Linked DNA regions of Homo sapiens: regions 2, 3 and 4 are each linked to region 1. The links are contacts of gene promoters, found by promoter capture Hi-C in blood cells and fetal thymus (Javierre and others, 2016). All regions are on one chromosome and are shown on one strand. Each heading gives the region's core, a stretch centred on a gene start or on the middle of the fragment in contact. The rest is flanking DNA. Distances are from core to core; before and after follow the strand shown. Region 1 holds the start of MYCBP2-AS2 (MYCBP2 antisense RNA 2). Region 2 overlaps SCEL (sciellin). Region 3 has its middle 22 kb from the start of SCEL. Region 4 has its middle 62 kb from the start of SCEL.

The links. The method cuts DNA at HindIII sites, captures the fragments that hold promoters and counts their contacts. A CHiCAGO score of 5 or more calls a contact.
Region 2: a fragment that was not itself captured here is called in contact with the fragment with the promoter of MYCBP2-AS2 in region 1 in 1 of 17 cell types (M2 macrophages); the score reaches 7.1 in M2 macrophages.
Region 3: a contact is called between a fragment that was not itself captured here and the fragment with the promoter of MYCBP2-AS2 in region 1, in 1 of 17 cell types (M2 macrophages). The highest score is 6.4, in M2 macrophages.
Region 4: a fragment that was not itself captured here is called in contact with the fragment with the promoter of MYCBP2-AS2 in region 1 in 2 of 17 cell types (naive B cells and total CD4 T cells); the score reaches 5.3 in naive B cells.

The regions. Positions count from the first base shown.
Region 1 is chr13:77,079,172-77,082,816 of GRCh38, reverse strand. MYCBP2-AS2 (MYCBP2 antisense RNA 2) reads left to right here and starts at 1,627. Exons shown (of 2, transcript NR_170173.1): 1 at 1,627-1,903; 2 at 2,156-2,306. MYCBP2 (MYC binding protein 2) reads left to right here. Exons shown (of 83, transcript NM_015057.5): 64 at 824-980; 65 at 1,166-1,390. The region is part of intron 2 of MYCBP2-AS1 (MYCBP2 antisense RNA 1); the gene reads right to left. The HindIII fragment of the contact is 5,615 bases long and covers 1,479-3,645 here.
Region 2 is chr13:77,560,456-77,564,100 of GRCh38, reverse strand. It overlaps SCEL (sciellin), which reads right to left. Exons shown (of 33, transcript NM_144777.3): 5 at 202-270. Among named protein-coding and RNA genes, the nearest start is that of SCEL, 27 kb to the right of the region's middle. The HindIII fragment of the contact is 5,677 bases long and covers 1-3,645 here.
Region 3 is chr13:77,511,866-77,515,510 of GRCh38, reverse strand. No RefSeq gene overlaps it. Among named protein-coding and RNA genes, the nearest start is that of SCEL, 22 kb to the left of the region's middle. The HindIII fragment of the contact is 2,513 bases long and covers 671-3,183 here.
Region 4 is chr13:77,471,518-77,475,162 of GRCh38, reverse strand. No RefSeq gene overlaps it. Among named protein-coding and RNA genes, the nearest start is that of SCEL, 62 kb to the left of the region's middle. The HindIII fragment of the contact is 866 bases long and covers 1,482-2,347 here.

The DNA.
Region 1 (3,645 bases), core at 378-2,877:
TCTTAGTGCCCTAAATTATCACTGTAGCAATCTCCCTCACTTTCCCCAGTCTCCTACCTCAAATCACTTAAATGTCCCAAAAAGAGAGAGGGAAAATGAAATCTCAAAAACAAAAACCAAAATAGAGTTTTGACTTGAAAAGAATCTTGGGGAAAACAGAGCCTGGTTGTATGCACCCAGTCCTAAAAGCACCTTAAGGAGCATCACAGATGCTCAACAGATTCCAATTTCAATTTGAAATGTGTTGAGAATTTAGCATTGCTTTTACACTGTGAACCTTGTTACTAGATTCACATACTGGACTCACACTTATAAATAAATTCTCCTAATTAATGTATACAAGAAATAGATTGATGGAATGCTTGGGCTTCCCATGTTACTAATGATAAGACCAGTGGAAGAGAGATTTCTCTTTGTCCTCCTCACAAGATTTTTGAACTACAAGATAAACTATACCCTGATGAATTAGTATGGCATTGTAAGAGTAATAAATTTGAGGGGTTGTTGCAGTTGGTGTACCACTTGTTTACACAATAGATTCATTACCCTTTTTGCTTCTGTAGCCTTGATCTTCATCTGTCTAATTCTTTTATATTTAAAATGGGTCAACTTTCCTTAGAATTTACCTTGTTCCAAAGAAGTTACCTTTATTTCTCAAAAACAAAAACAATAGGAATGATTTTCTTCCCTGAATTTTTAAAATGTCTGTTACTAGAACATTAAAATTTCTTGAGATATTAGCTACAGAGTACTCATCTAAGAGTTCCTTAGATGTTCCTGGAAAATAATTATTTCGTATATTGCTTATATATCGCCTTTTTAGGTGCTGGAGTCTCAAATTCAAGCAATCTGATCACCAGTTCCTTCATCAGAGCAACGTCTTTCATCACATTAACAATATTTTGTCAAAGTCAGATGATGGCGATAGTGAAGAGAGTTTTAGCATCAGTATACAGTCTGGCTTTGAAGCTATGAGTCAGGTCAGTCATTTCAGTTATTATCCTGGTTGTCCTGTTAGTTAATAATACATCAAAGGAGAAACTGTAAGTTATTCATAATCAATTTGATCCTGTCTTCCATTATGTTTTATCTTATACCTGTTTGTTTTATCATCACGAAAGATTTGCTTTTAAGTATCATAAGTACTTATATTTGTTTCTGATAGGAATTATGCATAGTAATGTGCTTAAAGGACTTAACCAGCATTGTTGACATAAAAACTTCAAGCCGACCTGCCATGATTGGCAGTTTGACAGACGGCTCCACAGAAACCTTTTGGGAATCAGGAGATGAAGATAAAAACAAAACTAAGAACATCACCATCAACTGTGTAAAAGGAATCAATGCCCGCTATGTGTCTGTTCACGTGGACAATTCCCGAGATCTTGGGGTAAGAAAGCAAACGTGATTTACGGCTCTTTAGCTCTTTTCAGATCTTAGTATTCATGCACTTTCATTTCTGAATTTAGCAACAAGCTTTATCACCTGGAATTTCACCAACCAAACATCATTGCTATAATCCCCAAATAAATCTTAAGTCTAAAAACAAATTAATATGATTGGGAGCACTGTGGAATTCCATTTCTGAAAAGAGGTCTGATTACAAATATACCATGGCTACAGCTAAGCAAAATGAAAGTCTGCTCTACAATTTTCTGCTGCCATTCCCTTGGTTAAGATTTTCCCGTGACCTGGAAGTCCTCCCCTTAAACTCTGCTGATCAATTCTTCCAGGGTCTCTCAAACTCAGCAGAGAAATTCTAAGTAACTCCTCTAAAAAATTACTCTTTCCCTCTGCTGATTCTTTTTGTATTACTCTGGTGGCACTTAATAATAATCTTTGACCTATAGTGTAATCAGCTTTTTTTTTTTTTTCTGAGATGGAGTCTCCCTCTGTCACCCAGGCTGGAGTGCAGTGGCACAATCTTGGCTCACTGCAACCTTCGCCTCCAGGTTCAAACGATTCTCCTGCTTCAACCTCCTGAGTAGCTGGGATTACAAGCACACGCCACCATGCTTGGCTAATTTTTGTATTTTTAGTAGAGACAGGGTTTCACCATGTTGTCCAGGCCGGTCTCAAACCCCTGGCCTCAAGTGATCTGCCCACCTCAGCCTCCCAAAGTGCTAGGATTACAGACATGAGCCACTGCACCCAGCCTATCTTCAAGTGTCTACTTTGCCACAGTCCTCATGAAATAAAAAATAAGTTTCAGACTGTCCCAAATAATCATAATTTATATTCTCTTCAGCCTAGTTCATCCATGTGTTTCAACTGAATTAAATATTCTTTTATAAAAGGCACTAAACAAGAAAAAAGAGTCCTATTTGCTTGAGTATTAACAACCAAGAAAGAAATAGCACTAACTGCCAGACTGCCTTTCTTCTACCTCATTTAGAATTTTTTTCCTCAGAATGGATGTGGCTTGCTAGCAGATACAGTATTAATGGCTCTCCTTGAACCATTGCCTGGCTTCTCCTGTGCCATTTGCATATTTCCTTTCTCAGGAAGAGCCACAGTGGTAGGATTGGGTCTCAGATAACCTGGATGCAGGCCAGTCTGCAATCAGAGCAACCTCCAACTCCTGTACATCAGTGCAGGTTCTATTCCTCCCTGGTATTGAGTAAGTAAAAGAGGCTTAGCTAATATAATATGAGCTATTTCCTCCTCAGACCTAAGAATTTCCACTGGTGTAACTACTTTATCTTACTGGAAAGTCAAGTGTAACAAAGCAAAACATTTTTGTAGCTAGAACTCACTGTTCAGTGCAAAGCTATCTTTGGCTCATGGTACATTTTAAGCAAGGACATACTCTCCCTCAGAACAATGATTGCAATCAATTTAACACTTCTGTCTTTTCTAAGAGGAAATAATCATAACAGTATTCATTTTCAAAATTCCCAACATGTAAGCTGACATCTACTTTCCTTTTAACAGGCTTCCTCTATGTTATAGGTTGAGCATTCCAAATCTGAAAATCCAAAATGCTACAGAATCTGAAACTTTTTGAACACAGATATGACACTTAAAGGAAATGCATATTGGAGCATTTCTGGTTTTAGATATTCAGATTTGGGGTGCCCAGCCAGTAAGGATAATGCAAATAGAGTATTTCAAAATCCTAAAAAATCCCTAATCCAAAACACTTCTAGTCCCAAATATTTCTAATAAAGGATACTCAACCTGTATGTATGTTTTCCTTGAGTTATGTACCTCCATGTTCCTCAACCTGCCTACCACAGAGCCTTGTACACAGCATTTGTTGATTTGAGTTGTATCAGCCTACAGCACTCATATTATGCAGCTCTCCAAGGAATTAATGTTAATCTATTTCTTGATGTGCTTTGCGTAAAACTTATTCAGCCTTAAGATATTTGACACTAGTTTGAACATGTATTGAACTTGTACTGTTTGACATTTATTTTGTGTATTAATGTTGCCTTCCCTAGTTTGGCAAGTATCTTGGGGGATAGAACCTCCTCTCATATATCCTACTTCAAATCTGTAAGGAAGTCTGGGTACATTGTGACACTCATAAGTATTTGTTAGTTCAGTTACCTTCCCTCTTTATACTTCCAAAAGTAATGAAAATATAGCAACAAGAGTCTGACATAAGTGACAAGCAGATTTGTTGAAAGGCTTCATGAG
Region 2 (3,645 bases), core at 586-3,085, 480 kb before region 1:
AAAAGATTTTGGAAATGCATCTAGCCAAGATTTAGTGAGATCTGAAGAAGATAATTCAATTCTTAGAGCCCTCCATCCCTGGGAATAAAATATCAGTGATTCAAACCTTATTTTGGTAAACTTTTAAATACTTCATAACTTTATTAGAAAATGTATTTAATATGTTATGCATTCCATTTATATGGTTCAAAAGCCCCTTACCTGTCCAAAGTGTCATCAGAACTGTACCGACTAATTGTAGCTTTTGGCACATCTCTCTCATTTACTTTCCTGTAGCAAACATAATTACCAAAAAAAAAAAAATCAAATCAATTACAAAAAAAAAGTTTATAAAACCTATCATACATATGGCAATATTTTGACCTATTTCAGTAGGAAATATACATGTTACCAAGGAAAGATAGATTTCTAATACCCAAATCTTCCAACTTGGATAGAATAAATTATGGAAAATCCAATATCCTATGCTAATAAAAGATTCTTCTCTGGCTTCTATTATTTCTGACAACAATGTAACATATTCAAATTAGGGGTAAGGATACGTAAATCATACAACACAACAAACAACACAACACTCAAAATGTTTAATAACTAATATGTACTCTTGTCAATGTTGTTTATTTCTACATAATAGGAACTCAATCTTTTATACTCAACTATATTTTGTTTGCAGAGTTTTAGCAGTGCCATAAACCAGCACCATGGACTAAATCCATAAATGCTTTGTTTAATATTCAGCACCGTGGACAGGGTTGAAAGAAGGGAACTTACAGGCAGAAGGAGGGGAAAGACAGGAAAGAAAGGAAAGGAAAGGAAGGAAACAGGAAAAGCTGGGGAAAATGAAAAGGAGAAAGTGGGAAGTGAGAGAAAGGAAGGATAGAAGGAAAAGAGGAAGAGAGAAGAGTGATAGGAAGAAGAAGAGGAGAGACAAGGGCAAAGAGAGGAGAGCAAGACAGATGAGCAAAAATGGGGGGGGAATTTAGAAAATAACAGAAAAGAGGATAGAAGACTCAGTAGAAGGAATCGTGATCATGGAAGCAAAGGAAAGATCCTGATCAGATTGATCAAACATTTAAAAAAGCCTGTTTAATGCCTCATATAACCCTATGATATAAAGCAAGCAAGCTCTTTGGAGAATTCCCCATTATTTATTGTGTTTGTATTTCTAAGTATCATTTAAAGCCATCATATCCAAAGTATTGCATTAGAATAAGTACTAAGACTAGATACTAAAGATTTAATTTTAAAGTTGATGTGGCATATTTTCATTAAGCAACTATTTGGATGTACTCAATATAAAAAGGGCTAGGAATAGTGCAAAAAGCATATTTGCTATATTAGTAGTGGAGAAAGTAACATTTGCTATATTAATCAACACTGTTGTACTGAGAAATATAAGGAAGTCTAGAATAAAATAACTATAGCTGCTATCTACACAGAGCAAGACGGATAAATCAGGTATGTACATCCAAAGACAGAAAGTAGTGAGTGCCATAAAAGAGGTTTGGGTAAGGTGTAAGGAAGTTCTAAGCTGAGAAAGCTGATTTCTAGGTATACAAACCAGAGGAGGCTTTATGGAATGAAGTGCAGTTTGAGCTGGGCCTTGGAGGGGAAATAGATGTGAACATTTTCGAATAGAGGTAGAGGGAACAGCATCAGTTAAGGCAAGAAAAAGAGTGAAGAAAAATGCCAAATACAACTCCCCCAATTTTTAATACAACCCCAGAGTGAAATCATGGTGTGGTTCACCATCGTGTGTAAATGTGTAAATGCAAGCAGGTGCCGGAGGGCCATCTGTCCCCTTGCAGAAAACAGCCCCTCCCCAGACACCATCACTATGTCTCTAGGTGGCCGTTGTCTTCCTACTGCTTATCACAATAAGACATGTTTCAACATGTTATTTTCATTCTCTCCCCTCCCTCACTTTCAACTAGGATGCAAGTTCTGTGGAAGCAGGGACTTTGTTTTGTTTGCAGCTCTTAACACAGCTACTGATGCACAGGAGGCCTCCTACAGGTGCTATTTGGCTGTCATCCTTATTTGACATGTTTAAATGATCTACCAGAACATGTACATGGTCAAACTTTCCAATTGTGGATAATATGAAGGTATTATCTAAGGTGATGACAGTGTATTATTTATTTTCCTTTATTTTCAGACCCCACTCATGCCAGCTCTCTGCACACATTGTCATCTCTGCTGGAAGTGCTTCTTTCCTTGCTCCATGCCCACCAGCCAGCCTTGCCCATTTGGGAAATTTTTCCTCATAATCCTTCAAGCATCATCGCCAACACCAAAGACCACCTCCTTGGTGAGATCTCTGATTATTTAGGCAGAGTTAGTCTCCCCTCTTTTCTATTCCCATAGTGCACTCACACACCTCTACTATAGCACTTTCCGTGATAAACTTTAGTATTTTCATTTGTGGATATTTTCAGGTCAAAGATTATGTTCTATGCATCTTTGTATTCCTGGCACCTTGCACAATGCTGGCACATAGCAGGTGCTCCAAAGTGGCTGTTCAGTGGGCATCAAGGTAAAGACATCCTCTGCAGAGCAGAAAAATGACAAGTGATACCCTCTGAGCAAGTACCAGGAGAAAAATAATCTGCCCTACTCTTTTAGGGAGATTGATTCTGTGATGTTAGTTATAGGTCAAGAGGGAAATGTCTAGGGCTTACAGATTTTTGTTCCTTAAAAGACTGATATTATACTTTAGCCACAATGTTGGCCACCATGAGGAAGGGTTCAGGAAACGAATACAATTTAAAATATGAAATAAGCATGAAAGGCATTAAGCTCTTGTTAACCTAAAACACATTGTATGTACATTAAGAATATGAAGCGTATTTCACACTTAAAAAACACAAGCATTTCTGTTCTTAAATGTTCCAGAGAAAGGTGAGTAACATAGAGGTGGCTGGACTCAAATGGTGAGCCTCTCCTTTGTTGGTGGAATCAGAGCCAGCTGAGAACCAGGCTGTGATCTTCAAAACCATAAAGACTAAGGACAGGGCCTCGGCAGAGAGTCTGCCAGATCACAGAACAGTAAATCAGATGAACTAAAGCTGGCATCAGGAAAATGAAATGGCAACTCTGTGTAGAAGGTTATAAGCTCAGCACCCTTAAAACAGGTCACAATTATGAAAAAGTTTAAAAGGGTTGACAGAAATTCATAAACAAAAGTTTCCAAAATAGACGTGTCCCAAGTGTCTGCTTAACTTTTTAAGATCCACACCATAGAAGACATTCACACTCCCTTTCTAATTACATTTAAATGACAAACAGACACAAGCTACTAGACCAGATAAAATTTGTGTCTGATAAATAATTAGGTTCTTCTGATGGGTGTGGTTGTTTGTATGGATGTGAGTACAACTGTGTTGTGGTAAGAATATTCTCTATTTTTATCAATCTGAGATTATTTGTATCATTGTGATTACTGTTTTGTCTTAATTTTTCTACTAATTTGCTTTGATCAGTCTATTTGCCACTGAGGATCAGTTCATGTTTTCCCACTAGCCCAGGAGTTTCCAAAAAGAAAGGTACTGTCCCATAAAGCAAGTGAACTCTGTAGTTGTTATTTCTGTATTTTAGACTTCCTTTCCCTAAGGTTCAGAGATATGTAATCTGGTCATGTTGCTG
Region 3 (3,645 bases), core at 678-3,177, 430 kb before region 1:
GTTCATAGTTCACATTAGTTCACTCTTGGTGTGGTACAGTTCTAAGGGTTTTGACAGATGCATATCACACATCCACCGTTACAGTATCATACAGAATAGTCACACTGCCCTAAAAATCTCCTGTGCTTCACCTTCTAATCTCTCTCTCCTCTTCCCCTTAACACCTGGCAACTACTGATCCTTTCATTGCCTCTATAGTTTTGCCTCTCCCAAAATGTCATGTTTGGAATCATACAGTATATAGCCTTTTCAGACTGGCTTCTTTCACTTAGCAATATGCATTTAAGGTCCAATGGTGCAACGTTCCATTTTTACTTAGTGAGTGGTGAAAAAAAGTATAAAGTTAGCAAATTTTAAAAGAAATACTCTTGGTATACACACAAGTCATTTAGGATTTGCACTTTTCAATATGAATGTGTCAAATACAAGAAACAATGAATTTTGGAGTAAAGACTATTCCCATTCTCATGCTAAATGTATAGTCTTGGCCAACAGTAGATGGAAGTCCCATGCTGGTGATTTCGAAACTTGTTCTTTCATTAAAATAATATTTATGGAGTATGCAAGGAGTGGGAATGGAGAACTGCAAATAAATCCAGAAGTATTTTTAATAGATTTACTTATTGTAGTGGTATGAGTAAAGTGATTCTGAAACAATTTAGATCAAGCTTGTTCAACCTGCAGCCTGGAACAGCTTTGAATGAGGCCCAATGCAAATTTGTAAACTTTCTTAAAAACATCATGAAATTTTTTGGCAAGTTTTTTTAGCTCATCAGCTATCATTAGTGTATTTTATGTGTGGCCCAAGACATTCTTCTTCTTCCAATGTGGCCCAGGGAAGCCAAAACATTGGATGTCCCTGATTTAGATGTATTATAGGATTGCACAATGAGTTAATGCATTTGTGTTGCTGAGAGCGAGAGTTCTCACAGAGGAAGGTAGGTTGTAAACTATACAGTGAGGATGGCAAGAAAGAAGCCCATGGGAGTGGATTGAAACTGAAAGTATAGATCTGAACTCATAATGTCTAAAATATGTTGTATGTGTTTATGTATGTGTATGCCCACCTGTATACACATATACCTCTATGTTTGTGTGTATATATGTCTGTGTCTGTATGCATGTGTATACACACTCACATTTCCTAGCTCTGTCCACTGAAAGGGTCAAGAAGTAAAGATATCCCATGTGACAATTAATATTAGGTGTCAACTTGATTGGATTGAAGGATGCCCAGATAGCTGGTAAAGTATTGTTTGTGGCTGTATCTGTGAGGGTGTTGCCAGAGGAGACTGATATTTGAGTCAGTGGACTAGGAGAGGAAGACCCACCCTCAATGTGGGTGGGCACCATCCAATCAGCTGCCGGTGTGATTAGAACAAAAGCAGGAGGAAGAAGGTGGGATAACTTTGCTTGCTGAGTTTTCCTGGCTTCCTTCCTCTTCTTGTCTTGGATGCTTGCTTCTGCTCCTTCTGCCCTTGGACACCAGACTCCAGGGTCTTCATCCTTTGGACTCTGGAACTTGCACCAGTGGCTTCCTGGGGGCTCTCAGGCCTTCTGCCACAGACTGAAGGCTGCACTGTCAGCTTCACTGGTTTTGAGGCTTTCGACTCTGATTGAGTCACTACTGGCTTCTCTCTTCCCCATTTTGCAGGTGGCCTATCATGGGACTTCACTTTGTAATTATGTGAGCCAATTATTCCTAATAAACTCCCTTTCATATATACATATATCCTATTTGTTCTGTCCCTCTGGTGGACCCTAATACACACACACCAGTAACCAGAAGCACATCTAATGCCTAGAATTTGGCCTCTATCACTATTCTCCACTAAAAAGAATCAAGGCTCCACTCCATGTAAACATGCTGAACTGCTAAAATACCTTAAAATTAATATTAAAATAATCTGTGCAAAGATTTGCACTATCAATTATGCTGGGAATTCAAAGATACAATGTGGTATTCACTAATTACCCACAGTGAGATAGATTCTAGAGCCAGATGATGCAAGATGAGTCTGGAACATACTATGTCTAAAAGTGCGGAAATGCTTTAAAAAAAGTGTGGGGCTTGCAACAAAGCCAAGGAATCAACTTGAAGAAACCCCTAATGACCAGGTCAGGGACAATTTGAACACCAAAATATTAAGTAATGCATTATAAACCATTGAAAAAATACGAACTAGTGATACCAATAATTAATAAATAAATAGGTGAGGAAAAGGAAGGTCTCTTGCTTAATGTAGAATGCTGAGTGCTGGCTGGTAAATGCGGAGGTGATGCTGAAGCTGGAAAATCACCATTTTGCAACATCATGGTAAAGACTGGATAAAGCAAGAATCATCAATGGATACTAAATCTAGGGGGATATTTTGTTGAAGACCAGAAACTTGCCATGAACTTAAACAGTGTTACCACAAATTGCTAATTCGCTTCAACGTTTTTTTCAAAAAGTAATGATACAAAGGAGAAGCTCAGCAATACCTTCACCAGGTGCTTAAAATTAACATCACTGGTGATGAACAGATGGCCTTGGCATGCCTCCCCTGAGAAGGGCACAACATCACCTGTGAAGTATTCGGTTGAAAATGTATAACTTGACTCCCTCATGAAAAACCAGCAGACCAATGAGGAATATTCTATTTAAAAGAGGAGAAGAGTATAGTCTTCAAAAATGTTACTGGCACAAAAGACAAGTAAAGGCTATGAAATATTCTAGATTAAAGGTGATTAAAGATACATGACAAATTAATGTAATGTCTGACCATAGATTAGATCCTCAATTGCAATGGAAAATGCTACAAAGGTCATTGTTGGGGCAATTGCATAAGGGCAATAGCTTGGATAAAATTACTTTATCAAAGTTAAACTTACTGAAGTTGATGAGTGAACTGTGGTTATGAATGAAAATATCTTTTTATCATAATCACTATTATTATCTATTTCATTCATTATTTAAACTACAATAATGTCAGAATAAGGAATGTATTTAATTGCAATGTAAAATTGCAATTGACATGTAAGATCTTTTTTTATCAACAGTGTACTAAGTATTATAACATTTTCCATATTTATGTAAAATTTTCTATTTTTTCACTAGGAAAATAGTGAAACTAGTGAGCAATGCTAATGTGTATGAGGCTCTCCAAGCCAACCCTGATAATTGAGTTTAAATGTTAAGCTTACAATTTTACTAGTGCCCTTAGCTTTCCTCACAAAGAATTAATTGATTTAATTTTAGAATCTGAATGTTCTGTAATTATTCTACATTGCATTAAAGAAGTTTTCCATATTATTGTTTGACAATGTTTTGTGTGAAGAACACAAAGTAGAATTTTTTTTTCCCTTTTCTTTTTTGTTTTTGAGACAGAGTCTCGCTCTTGTAGGCCAGGCTGGAGGGCAGTGGCGCGATCTCGGCTCACTGTAACCTCTGCCTCCCGGGTTCAAGTGATTCTCCTGCCTCAGCCTCCTGGGTAGCTGAGACTACAGGCATGCACCACCACACCCGGCAAGTTTTTGTATTTTTTTAGTAGAAACGGGGTTTCACCATGTGTCAGGTTCTAACTGAGGTGCAAGGGGAGTCAGTGGGCAAGTGGCAGGTAGCTGGAAAAACACTTGAGGAATCGTAAACAATTTCAACATGGC
Region 4 (3,645 bases), core at 665-3,164, 390 kb before region 1:
TGCACCAATCGACACTCTGTATCTAGCTACTCTGGTGGGGACTTTGAGAACCTTTGTGTGGGCACTCTGTATCTAGCTAATTTAGTGGGGACGTGGAGAACTTTTGCGTCTAGCTCAGGGATTGTAAACGCACCAATCAGCATCCTGTCAAAACGGACCAATCAGCTCTCTGTAAAATGGACCAATCAGCTCTCTGTAAAATGGACCAATCAGCAGGATGTGGGTGGGGCCAGATAAGAGAATAAAAGCAGGCTGCTTGTGCCACTAGTGGCAACCCGCTGGGGTGCACTTCCATGCTGTGGAAACTGTGTTCTTTTGGTCTTTGCAATAAATTTTGCTGCTGCTCACTCTTTGAGTCCACACTGCCTCTACGAGCTGCAACACTCACGGCGAAGGTCTGCAGCTTCACTCCTGAAGCCAGGGAGACCACGAACCCACCAGGAGGAATGAGCAACTCCAGACGCGCTGCCTTAAGAGTTGTAACACTCACTGTGAAGGTTTGCAGCTTCATTCCTGAGCCAGTGAGACCAGGAACCCACCAAAAGGAAGAAACTCTGAACACATCTGAACATCAGAAGGAACAAACTCTGGATACGCCACCTTTAAGAACTGTAACACTCACCCCAAGGGTCCACGGCTTCATTCTTGAAGTCAGTGAGACCAAGAACCCACCAATTCCGGACACACCAGCACTTTGGGAGGCTGAGGCGGGTGGATCATGAGGTCAGGAGTTCGAGACCATCCTGGCTAACATGGTGAAACGCCAACTTTACTAAAAATACAAAAAATTAACTGGGCGTGGTGGCACACGCCTGTAGTCCCAGCTATGCAGGAGACTGAGGCAAGGGAATCGCTTGAACCCGGGAAGTGGAAGTTGCAGTGAGCCGAGATCGCGCTGCTGCACTCCAGCCCCGGCGATAGAGGGAGACTCCGTCTCAAAAAAAAAAAAAAAAAAAAAACTTAGTTGCTCCTTTTGCCTTATGCCTCTCAGTGGAATTCTTTCTTCTAAGGAGGCAAGAATTGAAGTTGTTACCGACTCATGGATTCACTGCAGGTCATAGGCATGCCTCACACATTTTTCAATTGACCAGGACTATCTTGCTCAACAGTAACTGAATAAAAGTGGACTGAATGAATGAGATTGCAATGCGGAAGGTAAGCAACAGATGGGGGTCACCCAACACTCTTACCTGAGCACCTTGATTATAATACACTCCAATCCATGATCCAGAGGCAAAACCCAGGGCTTCCACTCATTCATAGTGTCTGTGCTGACACAACCTACCCCTGCCTGATGTGCCAGCTGTTCAGCCTCTTTGCCAATGACAGTCAGCCTTGAGGTTCTTGAACACCACTGGACAATGTTAACTGATATTCCTCAACAAGGCATCTCTCACATTGAAGATGCTATATACAAAAGGAAGGAAGTGGGGGAAGGAAGGACGGACGGACAGACGGACTAGGTGGAAAAACATTAAGCTTAGTTTCTTGAATATAGGCAGACTGCTAATGCAGGCCATTTGTCGTTCCATTCTGAGCCCTTTCTGTCTCTCCATCTTCACCCTCAATAATGCCATTTGAATTGTCCATGCAGCTCCCATGATGATAATTTTGTAAAGTTGGTTGTTTTAGGAAGAAGTTGATTTCTTTGATCTCTTGTCTGGTTTGTAGCTATGTTCCTACTTATTCTTTCCAGGCTCTGCCGTTCTTCGGAAACTCCTCCATGTTACAGTGTTTGTGAAACTGCTTGCACTTTGATTATTTTTAATGTGCATTTCACCAGAAACCCATAGTACTCCTGTACTGGGAGTGAATCCTGCCTGCAGTGAGTGCTGATGAATGGAGGGATGAGCTAATATAACTAAAAGAAAAGGAAAACAATTAAACTCAATGCCAAAACGAACAATGAAATGCAATTCTGCTTGTTTATTTCTTCACAGTTGGGGCAAAAAAAAACCCTCAAAATTTAATGCAATCAATTACTACAAAATAACACCAAAATGGTTACAAAAATAAGTATGATGGTGCTGTCTTTAGTGTGTTTTTTCCTTTGTTCTTTTCTTCTTTCCTTCTTTTCCTTCTTCCTTTATTGCTTCCTCCTTTCTCCTTCATTTCTGCATTTGTTTTTTCGTGATTATACATGTAAGCGTATAAAATAAAGCAGCTTTTCTTCTTTTGAAAGATGAAAAGAGAAATAGGAAGGGGTCAAACATCCTGCAAAAATGGCAAAAATGTAACTGAACTGTCTTCAATATATGCTGTAATACCATAAATTCCTTTGTCATGGAAAACATTTAACATATTGGCAGACATAATTCTGGTATATCAACCATGTATATTTTAAGCTTTAATATACTTTTATATATTCAACTTCATTTCCATAACTCAATATATCAAAATGTAATGGTTTCCCAACTGTAAGAATCGCTGAGGACTTTCTATATACTCTTTAAGGCTACCATGTTTTTTCTTAACATTTTAGCAATCATTTGATTACTAAAAACAGATATTCATCCACGACATCTGTGCCAGCAACCAGTTAGTGGTTCACCAAACCACTTTGCCTTTCTTCCAAGTATACTGGTGGGCAATATATCATAGTTGTCTTTCCAGTTGGATGTGGCCTGTGACTGGGTATTGGTCAATGGAACCTAAATAGAAGTGATGGGTCCAACCTCCAGGCCTGGTCTATGACGTCCTCCTGCCCACAATTCTTTCTCTCTTATTTCCCTTTGCACCCAATGAATGGAGAAGTCTAAGGATCTAGAGGCTGAATTGCTGCCTGGAGGAAAGCTGTCCACTGGTCAGCCAACTAGGCTAGGCCTGCAAAACACGTGACAAATTAAGTTTTATTTTGGAGTTTTAATTCCAATTTTAAACTTTGAAATTTTGAAATTCTATGTGATAGTAGTTGGTCTGTCCCAGCTAATACACCAGTCTGAGAAAACCAATGTTATTCTGAAGCTCTTCATGATTCAAGCTGGAAGGGAAAAACCAAGTGGCTGAGAATTTGTGTGAATGTAGAAACCTGCTGGTTTCTCCTCATCACTCGTCCACGAAATGCCAGACTAAAGAGAGATAGCTGTGGCGGAGATACTGTGAATATTCAATTTGAAACACATTCAGTGAGCACAAACTCTGTGCCAGAAACCAACATGGAGAGTGTTCCTCTAGTCAGTCACTACTGAGGGTGATCAACTGCTCTTAACAAACGAGTAGAGACCCAGAAAAAAATACAACTTAATAAGACAACTAACTAAAGGGCTGAGTAGGAAGAAACAACCCAGGTATAAAGGAATGGGGGAGAAAGAGGCAGGGACATGAGAAGAAGGAGAAGGAGGTATAGAATGCAGGTAGGTAGCAAGGCTTGGAGAGATTCTTTAAGGCAATCTGGAGGTTTTGCAAGGGACCTTCAGGTCCTGCCCAGGAACAAAGAGGAAATAGTAGAAAGCACCAATCTTGGATCCAGCAGCATTTAATCATTAATTATCTAATCATTTAAGTATTTCATTCCCTCAGCCTCAGATCTCTCTTAAAAGAGCTAGGTTATTCCTGGTTTTGCATAGACAGTTTGCATTATAGTCTCCTAAACTGGAAACAAGCTAAAAGACTGGTCAGGGAAGTAGTTTCCCATTCTTTCCCAGG